Regions from separate parts of the Homo sapiens genome. Here region 2 is linked to region 1. Evidence: promoter capture Hi-C in human tissues and cell types (Jung and others, 2019). All regions are on one chromosome and are shown on one strand. The core of a region is centred on a gene start or on the middle of the fragment in contact, and the rest is flanking DNA. Distances in the headings are between cores, read along the strand shown.

Region 1 (6,392 bases), core at 1,634-4,133:
ATTACTATTTGTATTCTCATGGAGAAATGACTAAATTATGTTCTCTCTTGAGATTGAGGATAATCTTAGAAAATATGATAGTCAATTACCATATTCAATCATGTTAAATGTTGTAGATCATATATAAATACAAAAAGAAAGAAAATTATTTATTAAGCATGTGGTATGTTTGGTTTACTCAATTTGGGATTGAGGGGTTTTTTTTTTTAGAGAGATGAGAGGAATCAGTGTTTAAAAAAGTTTAATATTTTGCTGAATTATTTGTAAAAGAATGACCAACAATACAGACACAAAACTTCAGAATTATATCAAATTCCTATATGAATGCCTTTTTTGGGGGGTGGATCTAAATCAGCATAGCACTTTTGTGTGACTTTTTCTTAGTGAAAATATTAAAGGAACTTAGCATTTCTTTTCACCAGTACCACTGATGTCTCTAAGCCTCTTCTGTGAGTGCTCCCGTGATTCCTCCATCACCTTCAGCCACAGATTTAAAAAATCTACTAGCAATGGGGAAACAATCCAGAGTGACTTAGAAAAGAAAGATTCCTTGTCGTCATGGAACTTTTTTGTGTGTCATGTGTATCAAATGCAAATAATTACAGTCATTTCCCTCTCCTTAGGACAGAGCTTTAGTTTTCCCTGACATCCTGGTAAGACACTGTCTCAGTGACTGATACTCTGGAAAGTTCATCTTTAAAAGAGATGAACACCCAATCAATGTGTTGCATTCAGCAGATACCAGAAATACTGAGATACCAGAGTGGAGTGAAATCAGGGCCTTACTGGGGAGAAGGGGCTGGCCATCAACATTCGGTGAACATAGCAGGCAAAGTTACCATATTTGGGGACTAAAAATCTAATAATTCAGGTAAAGATCTCACATCATAACACCCTCACCACCCACACGCACAAACTCACTTTAGTTTTATCAGCAGCCAATAAAGTGAGATTTATTTCCTAATGAAAAGAATGCACTAAGAAAAATACAGATCTATAAGGCGATATTTTATTTGGGGATAGAAGAATCGCCCTAAACTGAGAATGTCAACTTTGTTTCAAGTAATACAGAAAAAGCACCTAGTACCAAACAGGTATACAAAGAAATAGCTGGGTTTAAGACTGGTCATGTAAACTCAAATGGAGTCAGTGTTCCCGAATGCCTAGATTTTCTTTCTGGGATGACTTAAAATTGAGCAAAGCAATCAAGAAAAGCGGCTACAGCTCACACTTCCTCATTGCTACAAGCAAGTCCCCCAACCCTGGAAACTCGGGACTTTAGACTTAAGCGTCCTCCACAAGTTCTTTGTTCAACCAGTAACCTCACAGATTCGTCTGTGTTGGCTTCATAGTCACAGCTAAAGGGGTGCATGGCTCTAGTGAGATCTTACTTAGCTCTAGACACCTGCTATTGCGTTTGACAGCTATGACCTATTCTTCCAGACAGAACCTACACTGGAACTCCCACCAGCAGAAGGAAATTGGTGCGGTGGAAACGGGGAGCAGGGTTCGAAAGCACAGGCAAAAGGCGCTCACAGGAAGCAAGATCCACGCTGGCCACACAAACTGTATCTTTCCCTTTGGAACGCTGGTACATCTCATCCATGTCAAGTGACTCCCCAGTACGTTCGGTTTGATCGCCTGTTGCCCTAACACTTTTCAGGCTAAAAACTACCTTGGTGCTGGGAGACACACTGGGTGGTTGGGTTTCCTCCAAGCAGGGCTTGATACGAGGGCACAGAAGGGCAGCTAAGGGTCACGTCTCTGGGTGCACAGGGTCCAAGTCCTAATTACAGAGGAGACCGGCTGCCCTTGTCTGTGCCCCATTCTCCAGCAAAGGGGTATATCGCAGGTTTGTGATTTTTAGTACCAAACTTGGGGCGATCAATTCAATTCCCTCCACCTTATGAGAAAGCAGTAAACCGAAATCCCCGGTGGGGCACTGGGGAAATTCCTACTCGGAAGAGAAACGGAGTTAGACTGCGTGTCCCCCACGCCCTGATGTCTGCTTTCCTGGTTCCTTCCAACTCATCCTCCAAGACGAAGGGAGCCGGGCGGGAAGCAGATGCCCAGAACGGGGATTCGTCGCAGGCTTGGTTAGGGGTCCCCAGAGCTGCGCTGCGCTGCACTCAGGCTACCCGCACCAAGCATCCCCGGAAGCCTCCCCGGGATTCACCCTGCGCGGCTGCAGGGCCCGAAAGGTCATCTTCCCACGAGTGCCACCAAGGGAGCCTGGGGGAGCGAAGGCCGGGCTCGGACGCCGCCAGTCCAGAGACCCCCTCATTGCCCCTTACCTGCCCGCGGCGAATCCGGCAGCCCCCTGACAGCTCCCAGCAGCCGCCACTGGAAAAGTTTCCGAACTTCTTCGCAGGTCTGCACGCCCTCGCTGCGGGCGGACCCAACCAGGGCCAGAAGGAGGAGGCAGCGAAAGCCCACGGGCCAGGTCTGTGCGTCCATCCTCGCCGTCCTGGTCCCCTTTACCCGCCAGTGGACCCCACTCGCCCTGCGCGCCCTGGCTGAGCTGCAGACGTGGAAGACACAGCGGCCGAGGCTCTCGAGCGGTGCGAGCCGGCTGCGGGGTGTACGGACCGCCCGCGGGCACCGGCTTCACCTGGGAGCAGTTAGCTCTTCCCGGAGGAGGCCCTAAGCTGAGACACCAGAGTTTTCCAGCTGAGCACCCTCTGGTCTTCTTCCCTAGCCGAGAAGAGTGGGCGGCTGGGCGGGGCGAAGAAAACTAGTGGAGCCGCAGGGAGCCCGCAAGCATCCGCTCTGGCCACCACTGCTGCAACTGCTGCCGCTGCCGCCACTGCCGCCACTGCCGCCACTGCCGCCGCCGCCGCCGCCTCCGCCGCCCGGCTCGGCTCGCAGCAGCTAACCTGGGATGTGCCCGCTCGCTGCGCTCCGCGGAAGCCCCGCCCCGCACTCCCCGCCCCGCGGACAGGCCACGCCCCTGCCACGCCCCCGGCGCGCTGTCCCGCTCCGCACCCACTAAGATGCTGTCATACGCGGCCCAGTGCTGAAGACTCGGAGCGACATCGATGCAAATAAATAGAAGGAAACCCGGACCTCGCTCTCCCAGTCCGTTCTGGGGAAGAATCATCTGATAAAAACAGAGAATGTATAAATAGGGTCAGAGAAGACAAGAGATGAGAAACACCAACTGGAACTAAGAAATATCTCATCTATGTAATCAAGGTCCTCAGTACATAGGAATTTGTATTCTAATTGCATTAAATAGGATCTGGACATAATACAAAAGGCAAAAACTATTTACGGTTAAAGATCTCAATTGAGAGACTTCATAACACTTAGGTTGTTAAAGAGTGCACATGAGAAGTTATTTTTTAAAATGGCTTTGTTTTACTGCTTAGGAACATTTTTCTATAACATGATTTTCTGAAAGGAGGTATAAGAATTACAATCAAACTTTATCACATTCTTATCACAATGAAATCTAGTTTTAAGTCTCTTATCACCATTTAGCATCATATTTTACTTCAGCACTTTGTATTTGTGGGGCTCCTCTGAGCTTTACCACTTCTGGAATTTCTTTAAAATATTTTTCAGAGAGCAATTAAGTTAAGAGTGCTCAGGGGAGTTCCTTACAAGGAATATAGAAAAATAAATACTTTAAGCAATTTTAAAATGGCAAAGGAATTTTGTCAATTTACAGTTTATGAGAGGAATGCATTACGCACCATAAACCAAAGGGCAGGTGCATTTTTTAAATGTGGTTGACTCAACAACTAAGCCTGTAAGAGTGTCTCAATCTACAGCCACTTGAAGAGAGTACTCCTTCTGTAAAATAAACTAGTTAAAAGCATCAGGCAGAGGGGACAATGAATGCTTTAACCACTTTAAGGAATTTCATCTCAAATTTGAACCCTTACCAAGAGATAGTAGTGAAAAACTTTATGTCTTAGTGAAGATTTTTAATGAACATTTAATATCAAAGGCAGCACTTTCAGCAGTATATCACTTGCTTTAAAACCATTCCAGGGCAATGGCTGAAACACTGCTTCAGAGTGAAATCATGCTACTTGGTGTTTGGCATCAGTTTTCTGAATATGAGATTTTGTTTCAAAGGGCAGTGCTCTTCATGAATCTCTTCTGCTCTAACCACCAAGTATGGAAAGATTGTCTGGAAGCCACCTATATCTATGAAAAGAAACAAGAAAAACCATGAGAATGTATATAGTGCTTATGGGCCAGATAATATTCTAAGTATTTTATGGAAATGAATTCACTCATGTAATCTTTATAACAACCTTATAAAGTAGTTACTACTATTATCATTGTTTTACAGATGAGGAAACAGGAACACAGAGGTGAAGTGACTTACTGAATGCCTAAGGTAAGTGACAAAGCCAGAAATCAAACTGAGGCTTCCAAATCCAGACCGCATGCTCTTCTCCAGAGGCTCTCCTTGACTATTCTGTGGTACAGAAAAACCCATCAGGTTTCACCAAAGGCCTTTGGGCAGCAACACCAAGGGCTGTTTATTCATTTAGCAGATTTTTTACTAGTAAATATGCATAATTTCTATCTATATAACTGTATTCTACTGGAATTATGTGTATCTCTATATAAGGCTAATAAATTCCCAAGTTTTTCTAAAACATCTTTATTGTTACCAAGATCTCTCCTTGATAGATTTGATCATCTTAGACTCTTAGCATCAAAAAGATCCTTAAATTACCATCTATCCCATTAACTGGAATCTCTAAAACGGTGTGTCTTGCAAGGATAAAAATCATAAACACAACTGAGTATTGATGGTTCAGTAAAAGCTAATTGACTAATACATATTGGTTGAAAACATACAATTTTTTTAACCGCTATTCTAGGCTTAACAGGAGTTTAAAGAGACACACAAGCAAGTTTTCTCAGTGATTTTATAAGTTAACAAAACAGGTGGGAGGTCATTTATAGAAATGCCATAGGAACTAACAAGAATATATTTAGTCTGTATAAAATATCCCCATTAACAAAAAATAAATATATTTTCCTTCTACCTCTTATCCATAACTGCTAGCAAAGTGGATGAGCCAGCATGTGGCCTGGAAGGGCATCTTGTCCTATTAGCATCCCTAAGCCCACCACGCAAGGCAACAGTATGCCTGCTACTGAAGCTACCAAGCTTCAAGACAAGTTTTCTAGTTCCACCCAGAACACAATGCCACGATCCCTTTTATAAGAACATTCTAGAGCAACCTCTGCAAATTATACCATAACTAGCCTTTTATTCAATTTACTGGTAAACATTACAAATGAAGCTAGGGAAAACTGTCCATAATTTGATAGTTATAATGCCTTATTTTACAAAATGTATTTAAAAAATGTATTGAATGTCTTTTATATAATAGGCATTGCGCTTTGCTTTCAAAATACCAATACCCTTGGATAGGAGAATCCTTAAATGGTCATTATTTAAAATACAGCTTAGTAATATTCTAAATCCAAAACTTCCCTGATACTTTCTATGTAACTGTTTATATGTTTATAGTTTGTCAACTTAGGACCTTGTAAAGAGAAATAAAAAACCTCGGCCGGGTGCGGTGGTTCACGCCTGTAATCCCAGCACTTTGGGAGGCTGAGGCGGGTGGATCACGAGGTCAGGAGATCGAGAGCATCTGGCCAACATGGTGAAACTCCATCTCTACTAAAAATATGAAAATTAGGTGGGTGTGGTGGCCCATGCCTGTAATCCCAGCTACTCAAGAGGCTGAGGCAGGAGAATCGCTTGAACCCAGGAGGCAGAGATTGCAGTGAGCCCAGATCGTGCCACAGGACTCCAGCCTGGGGGACAGAGTGAGACTCCATCTCACAAAAAAAAAGAAAGAAAGAAAACCTCCAGTGTGGTTTAGGTGATTTAATGATATCACAGAGTCTTCAACCCTGACTATTCTTTTAGGCTAAGACTGGCCACTAATTAGTTTACCCTCAGAAGCTGATTTGGGTAACTTTTATACCCAGTCAATGACAAGAGCTAAGATTTATTAAGCACTTACAGATATTATCTCATTTAACATTTCAACCATTCCATGAGACAGTTACTATTATACTACTGAGAAAACTGAAGTACAAAGAGATTAAATAACCTTCCAGAAATCCTGATAAGAGCCCAAATGCAAGCCAGGCTTCATAACTTTTGTACCCCTTTAGTCACTACACTCGCCTGCCTGAAAAGCCAGACACCTGGTTTGTGGCCCCTTGAACTCAACCTATCATATAAATATAAACTCTGGTACTCACAGCTATCCATGTGGACAACCTGCTGAACACCTTGGTTATAGTGGTCCAGAGCTCTGCATTGGCTTCAACGATGGCCTGATAGTACCTCACTGACGTGGGGCTGGCCAAGGTACTACCTGCTCCTACTTCCTACCTCC
Region 2 (6,392 bases), core at 3,893-6,392, 47 kb after region 1:
GGATAAATGATAGGAACTGGGGGAGCCAAAACACTTAAGTGGAAAGGCAGTTGTATTAAGACATCAGTAAATGAGCTGGGGTCTCAATCAAGTTTCGTATTTTAAAAGGAGTATTCGTAAGTACAGTCAAGGGCAGAATCATAGGTTATAAACACAAGACACTCAGAATATGGCATAAACATCTTTTCTAACTTGAAATTTAGATGCAATCTTGAGTATTAGAAAGTACAATTTTGACAATTATTCTGAGGGTAACACTAGAAAACTGTGGACTAAGTTTTAAACACAAAACCAAGGGAGTTTTAGATGAAAGCCTTAGAGGAGAATCTAAATGCTGACGATAACCTATGTCTAAAGACATGGCTTGTACCTTGTGCACCTTACTTGTTCAGAATGATGGTGGCCACTGTGACAGTAGCCAACCAAGGAAATACAGGTATAGCACAAAGACAACTACACACCTGGCCTGTTAGGTGCTGTTACCAAAACAAAGTATCATTGGAGAAGAAAAAGGGAAGTTACTGAAATTGAAGAGTAAGGAAAAGCCTGTGGATTTAGAAATAAATGTGGGGTTGGGGCACATATTTTGTCAGTCAGCTATAAAACTGAGTAATGACTGCATGAACCATAAAAATAGTTTACTGGTCTCTTTCCTGCATATAAATTCTAAGGTGTTTTGATGTTCTTCTGCATTCCTATGGCTCAGCATTTCCAACAATTCAGGGTAGTAGATATATCCTTAAGTATATACAGCAAAATCAACAGGTATTTCTCAAAATACTTGTCTGCGCAGCATCCTGCCCCAAAGACTCTAATATAGTGCAGCTAGATTAAGATTCCAGGTCTTTACGTCTTAATAATTTTAAGACAACTGGTTAAGAACCTTTTCTTGGTAAATGCATAATCACTTTAGAATTCCTAGCACCACCTTACAGGACCCCAATTTTCATCTACTCTTGGAACATTCACTAGTCTCATCTAGTTACCCCAACCTGCTGAACAGTGTGGTATTCCATCTGGATCAGTACATCTCAACAAGTGCAGAACTGATGTCGTCGAAGCTTTTTTTCAATCTTTTTCAGTCTATGTAAGTTGAAGTCAACATTAAACGTACTAAAAATTCACAGTATATATGCTTTTATAAACAAGTGTGAACAATTAGTACATGCTCACCTCTACTAATATACTGACAAATCTAGGTCTTAAAAGTAAACATGCAGTTATTAAGGATTTAGTATATTCAACCTGAGATCTAATTACTAATCACTTAGGAGTATACTAACATTTCATTTCGGGGAACTTACTACCAAACTCAGGTCTTTGTTATTTACCTCTATGACTAACGCATTTATGTCGGCACTTACTTAAGTTAGCCCTATGTATCTGTGGTTCCTGCATCCAACCACAAACAGACTGAAAATACTCAGGAAAAAAAATCTCACGAAGTCCCCAAAAGCCAAACCTGAATTTGCCACACGCAAATACTATACTGAATCTACATGAATAATATGTAAGATATTTTACCAGATTATTCAAGCAATATATAGACAGCTTAAAGCATACAAGAAGACATGTATAGATTTACATGCAAACACTGCACCACTTTACATAAGGGACTTGAGCACCTGAAGAATTTGGTATGCACTGAGGGTCCTACCAATCCCTCCACTGATACTGAGGGTCAACTATGCTAAAACTCTGCATGAGCCTAGATTTCTTGTGTTACTGGCCATAGACAGGTACAATCTCGTACCTCATTTAAAAAATATTTACAATGATTTTTTGAACTTTTAGAAATGGCTGAACTTTGAGGGCTGGTCAGAACATACCATTCTTATTTAATGTTTTAGAGTTAGTACAGACCCATTAATAAACACTCAACCCAGGAGCCAACACATATTGGACATTTATTAGAAGCAGGAGTTTAAGACTTTTTATATACTTTGGCCTCCTCTCTTAAACTTTCATGTTATCAACTGGCCAAAAAACACAAAAAACAAAAGAACTCCCACCTTACTAACGTGTATAATATAAACAAAATGAAGAATGCTTCAGACTTACCAAGATTTAAGGAAACAAGTGTGATCTGAGAACTTGTCAGATTCCATAAAAATACTAGGCAGAAGATAACCTTTTAAAATACTGACATATTTTAATTCAGAGTCCATTTACCACCTTTCCATTCTGCTTGAAAATGAACTTCTGATCTCATATGTAAAGTAAGAATACAAATACATATTTCACAGGTAATGAAGATTAAATAAGAAAATCCAGATAAACTTTGGTCCTTGTCTCCACTTCCCCAATTAATTAATAAGTAACCTTTAGACCATCTGTAGTGACAAAACAAAAACGCCATAAAAACTGCGATAATAACCTTGAAGTTTTTATTTCAATATTCTCGTTCTGGACAATTTCTTAACAGCTTTAAAATGCAGTATTTTATTTATTAACATTAAATGCGCTAGAACTCAAACAGCCAGACCAAACTGTAAATACAGAACTAGGCACATCTCAATGTTCTGTCTCTGTGTTTACATTACTGGATAAGAAAATTAAGCATTCTTCAACTTTTCTATGGGTCTTAAAATTCATGGAATATGTGCATTTTCCTAATGACCCTTTAAAACTAATACCACATATGAAATGTTATCAAGGCAGAAAACTACATTAATTTCGACTTTAATAAGATGTAACTCATACAACCACTAAGCTAAAGAATAATCTGAAGTCTCAAGTGGGCATGATGATCTTATTTCCATCAAACACTAAAAACTGGCTCTGTGCAGATTGAGCTCTCCTTACCTTTACTGCTCAGTTGAGAGGCTCTTAATTCTCTAAAGTTAGACAAACTATGCAAAACTGTCAATTAAACAGTGTATCATTAAATACATAATAAACTTTAATGTGACACTGAGTTGTTCTCCAGGAAGTTGCAGGCTGCATTTTGTCAGGAGTCAGTGTGTCTTCAAACTACAGGAGAAAACCCAAGTCTGGCTTGTAGTTAGACAGGTCTGCCTGTAAAATGAAGATCTCAAAAGTTTTCAGTAAAATCACCAACACTTTGCAAGCAGCTTTAAAAAGAATTCCTAAAATGTTAAGTGCTTTCTTTCCAAATATAGGCTAAAAATAGAAAGTTGTACATGCAAACGCCAAAAAAAAAAAAAAAAGTTGACCCATTTTTTCCCCTCCAAATAGTTAAGGCTATTTATTAAACCTAAAGCAACATGACCTCTTAAGTCTCAAGCAACTTCAAGGTTAAAGCATTTTAAGAACAAGGGTCAAAGTTGTTTTTTCTCAGGTCAGAGATGAGGCCATTATCAACTTGCTCACTCATCTGAATTTCAAAATGGCTAAATTAACAATGTGAATCTTTTTATACAATACTTACATGGCTTTTTGTTGGCATGTTAGCATGCCTAAGAAAATCTTAATAGAACCAAGAATGTAAAATTTGCCTCACATTCTAAAGCCAGAAACAAATCAAAAGCAATTCCTATTAAACCCTATAGAACCACAGATCACTACCAAACCCACAACAAAACATACACATTTATTAACTTGTTTATTAGATTTAAATCTCAGTTCAAGCCCAATTAAGTTCTGAACACAATGAATACTAGTTTCAGTCTCTAGGGAGAAAAGCCATTTAAGTCTTTGTTATTAAAACATATTTGACTTACATTTTAGAATATTTAAGAAATCATCCAGCAGGCTTCCTATCACACTGTTCCAGTTTTTAAAAAAATTGCTAGTGTATCTCCCCAAAAGCACACCATTTTGCAAACTACCAGACCATGCTGTATTATGAAACTTTTTTTTTTTTTTTTTTTTTTTTTTTGCGTTTAAGTCTTGGTCTTGCGCCCAGGCTGGAGTGCAGTGGCAGGATCTCAGCTCACTGAAACCTCCACCTCCCAGGTTCAGGTGATTCTCCTGCCTCAGCCTCCAGAGTAGCTGGGATTACAGGTGCACGCCACTGCACCCGGCTAATTTTTTATATTTTTAGTAGAGACAGCGTTTCACCATGTCGGCCAGGTTGGTCTCGAACTCCTGACCTCAGGTAATCCGTCTGCCTCAGCCTCCCCAAGTGCTAGGATTATAGGTGTGAGCCACCGTGTCCAGCCGGAACTTTTTAAGCATAGTTTGAAAGCCACGTTTGTCACTAAATAACCAAAAAGACACAATTATTAGGTCTCCTTCAATTCAAAAAGCTTAAGAACTCTGCTAATGTACAATTTGATTTCCATTTTATAAATCACTGTTCATTTCACATCCTGAAAATTTATGTTTTCATCAACTCCAGAATGATAGAATTCTTACCTTTCTATTCAGGAATCCAAGGCTAAGTTCCTTAAATTTCTTAAAGAACACATTAGAGGTGAAAACTTTTGTTAGACTTCAGACAATATTTTTAAAAGCTGATTTCTAGATTTATTGGGTGGTCTAACCTAGTGTTATGGAAGTTTATTTCTTATTACTAAGATAGCCTCTTTTACTCCAAAATACAATGACATTTCTCAAAACTTATCTTTCAAACATCAAGTTTGCCTGTACTTCAGCTTGGGCCCAATTTTACCACTTGGTCCTTTTAAATCTATTATTCAGGTATCCCACATTATTCTACACAAATACACATAGGCTAGAGACAAAAACACATGAAGAAAAGAGAGAAGGCAGAAATGCTGGGTAAAACACTAACTGCCACTTCTTAGTTTCCACTTCAGTGACTTTAAGTCAAATAAGCCTGGAATCAACTATCACTGTTGCCAAAGTCTGGCTTACGTAGGGAGTAGGGAACATAAATGTTAACTACAGACTTAGAAATAAATGAATATCTGAATCTCACCCCACCGCTGCACTCTTGGCATTTGGGAAGAGTGTACACATACATTTAACTGTTACTCTATTTAGCATTTGTTCTTTTTCTAACTCCCATTTTTTTAAGTTGCAGATGCTAAAAGCAGTCTGAGGACCTTGGTCATTTATAGCTTATAAATCACTGACAATCAGAAAGAAAAACTAGTATACAAGCATTTAACAGTTACACTTCAGTTACTCATGTATTGGTAAACTGGTACTTGCTTAATAGAAACAAATTGTACCCCAACCCTAAATTCCATGCTTAAAAAAACTCATCTTTACACATTGCTTTAAACAGAGCGGCATTCTCTCTAAATTTAAATACTTGAGTAATATATGAGCAACATAAATTAACTTTTAGATTAAGTAAAATATCCTGGAATAACACTAACTCCAAAGAAAGCAAAAAGATATACTCTAACTTTACAGATGATCATCAGGTATACAGTATGTTTAGTCATATCGCAATACTTAACAGCCAAATAAATCTAACAACAAAAAATATAGCCAGAATTTATACTGCCAAATCTGACACGCAACCCCAAAAGTGAAATGTTTTTGAATGAAAACAAGACAAGATGTATTTACACAAAAAGTTACACATTTTCTTTAATATTTCATGTATCTTGTACATTTAACAGTGGAAGTCGAAATCTTCAGTAATATTTAATTTTCAAAATCTTCTGGTCACAATCCCCACCAAACTCAACAGGCCGGGACAAGTGCAATACCATACAGAAACACAGCATTGCAACCGATCCCAACCTGTGTAGAAAGGGGTTTGAGTTTCCCTTACTTTTCTACAGACTTTTCACTACCACAGTCAGTTTTGCATGGATTTGCACAGCAGAATATCACACAGCTGGATGCAAACCTGCAAAACTAACCATAGAACAGTGTTCAGTAACAGGACAGTTTGATTGGGCGACAGGCCGAAGCTGGAGTTCTACAGCTAGCAGTACTTTAAGTGCTCATAATGCAGTAGATAACTAAACACTACCTGCACTATAAGCACTTTAGTGCTACAGAAGCTGTCACATCAGATAGACCAGGCAGATTCTACATCGACACAATAAAAGTACACAAAATTAGTAAAAATCATTCATTTGAAGGAAATAGCAGGCCACCATCAGTTTTGCATAGATTTGCACAACTACATTCTTCTTGTAGTGCAACTATGCAAAACTAACAGAGGACTGCAAACAAAAACTATTAAAACACCTATATACTTGCTTGGCTTGAATTATTGGATGAATACATAACTTCTTATGCCAGAAGGAGCACTTAGGGCAGTAGATGCTAATCTACTTCACTATCTGCACTAGATGCACCTTAGAACAAAAAGCACTCAACATCAGCAGGCCCTGCACTTTAAAGCCCAACTTGGCTTCCCGAGGCAGCTGTCACCATAATGCTACAAGTGCCTTCACTGCAGTAGATGCACATATCACTACCTGCACTGTAAGCACTTTGACATTATTCTGACTGGTCACAATCTTCAGTTTTACAAGGTGATGTTCTCTTTTTTCCTG

The links. Contacts are between HindIII fragments. The study calls those that stand out against the background at their distance.
Region 2: a fragment that was not itself captured here is called in contact with the fragment with the promoter of GPC5 in region 1 in 1 of the 25 tissues and cell types used here (lymphoblastoid cells).

What each region holds. Positions count from the first base shown.
Region 1 is chr13:91,395,112-91,401,503 of GRCh38, reverse strand. GPC5 (glypican 5) reads right to left here and starts at 2,883. Exons shown (of 8, transcript NM_004466.6): 1 at 2,295-2,883. The coding sequence starts at 2,457. It overlaps LOC124903189 (a long non-coding RNA gene), which reads right to left and starts at 4,627. Exons shown (of 2, transcript XR_007063831.1): 1 at 4,343-4,627; 2 at 3,916-4,158. RefSeq lists silencers at 2,799-3,068, 2,775-3,069. The HindIII fragment of the contact is 16,121 bases long and covers 1-5,769 here.
Region 2 is chr13:91,350,559-91,356,950 of GRCh38, reverse strand. MIR17HG (miR-17-92a-1 cluster host gene) reads right to left here. Exons shown (of 3, transcript NR_197388.1): 3 at 2,374-6,392. It overlaps MIR17 (microRNA 17), which reads right to left and starts at 6,346; the gene lies at 6,263-6,346. It overlaps MIR18A (microRNA 18a), which reads right to left and starts at 6,200; the gene lies at 6,130-6,200. MIR19A (microRNA 19a) reads right to left here and starts at 6,060; the gene lies at 5,979-6,060. It also overlaps MIR20A, MIR19B1 and MIR92A1. The HindIII fragment of the contact is 5,011 bases long and covers 2,637-6,392 here.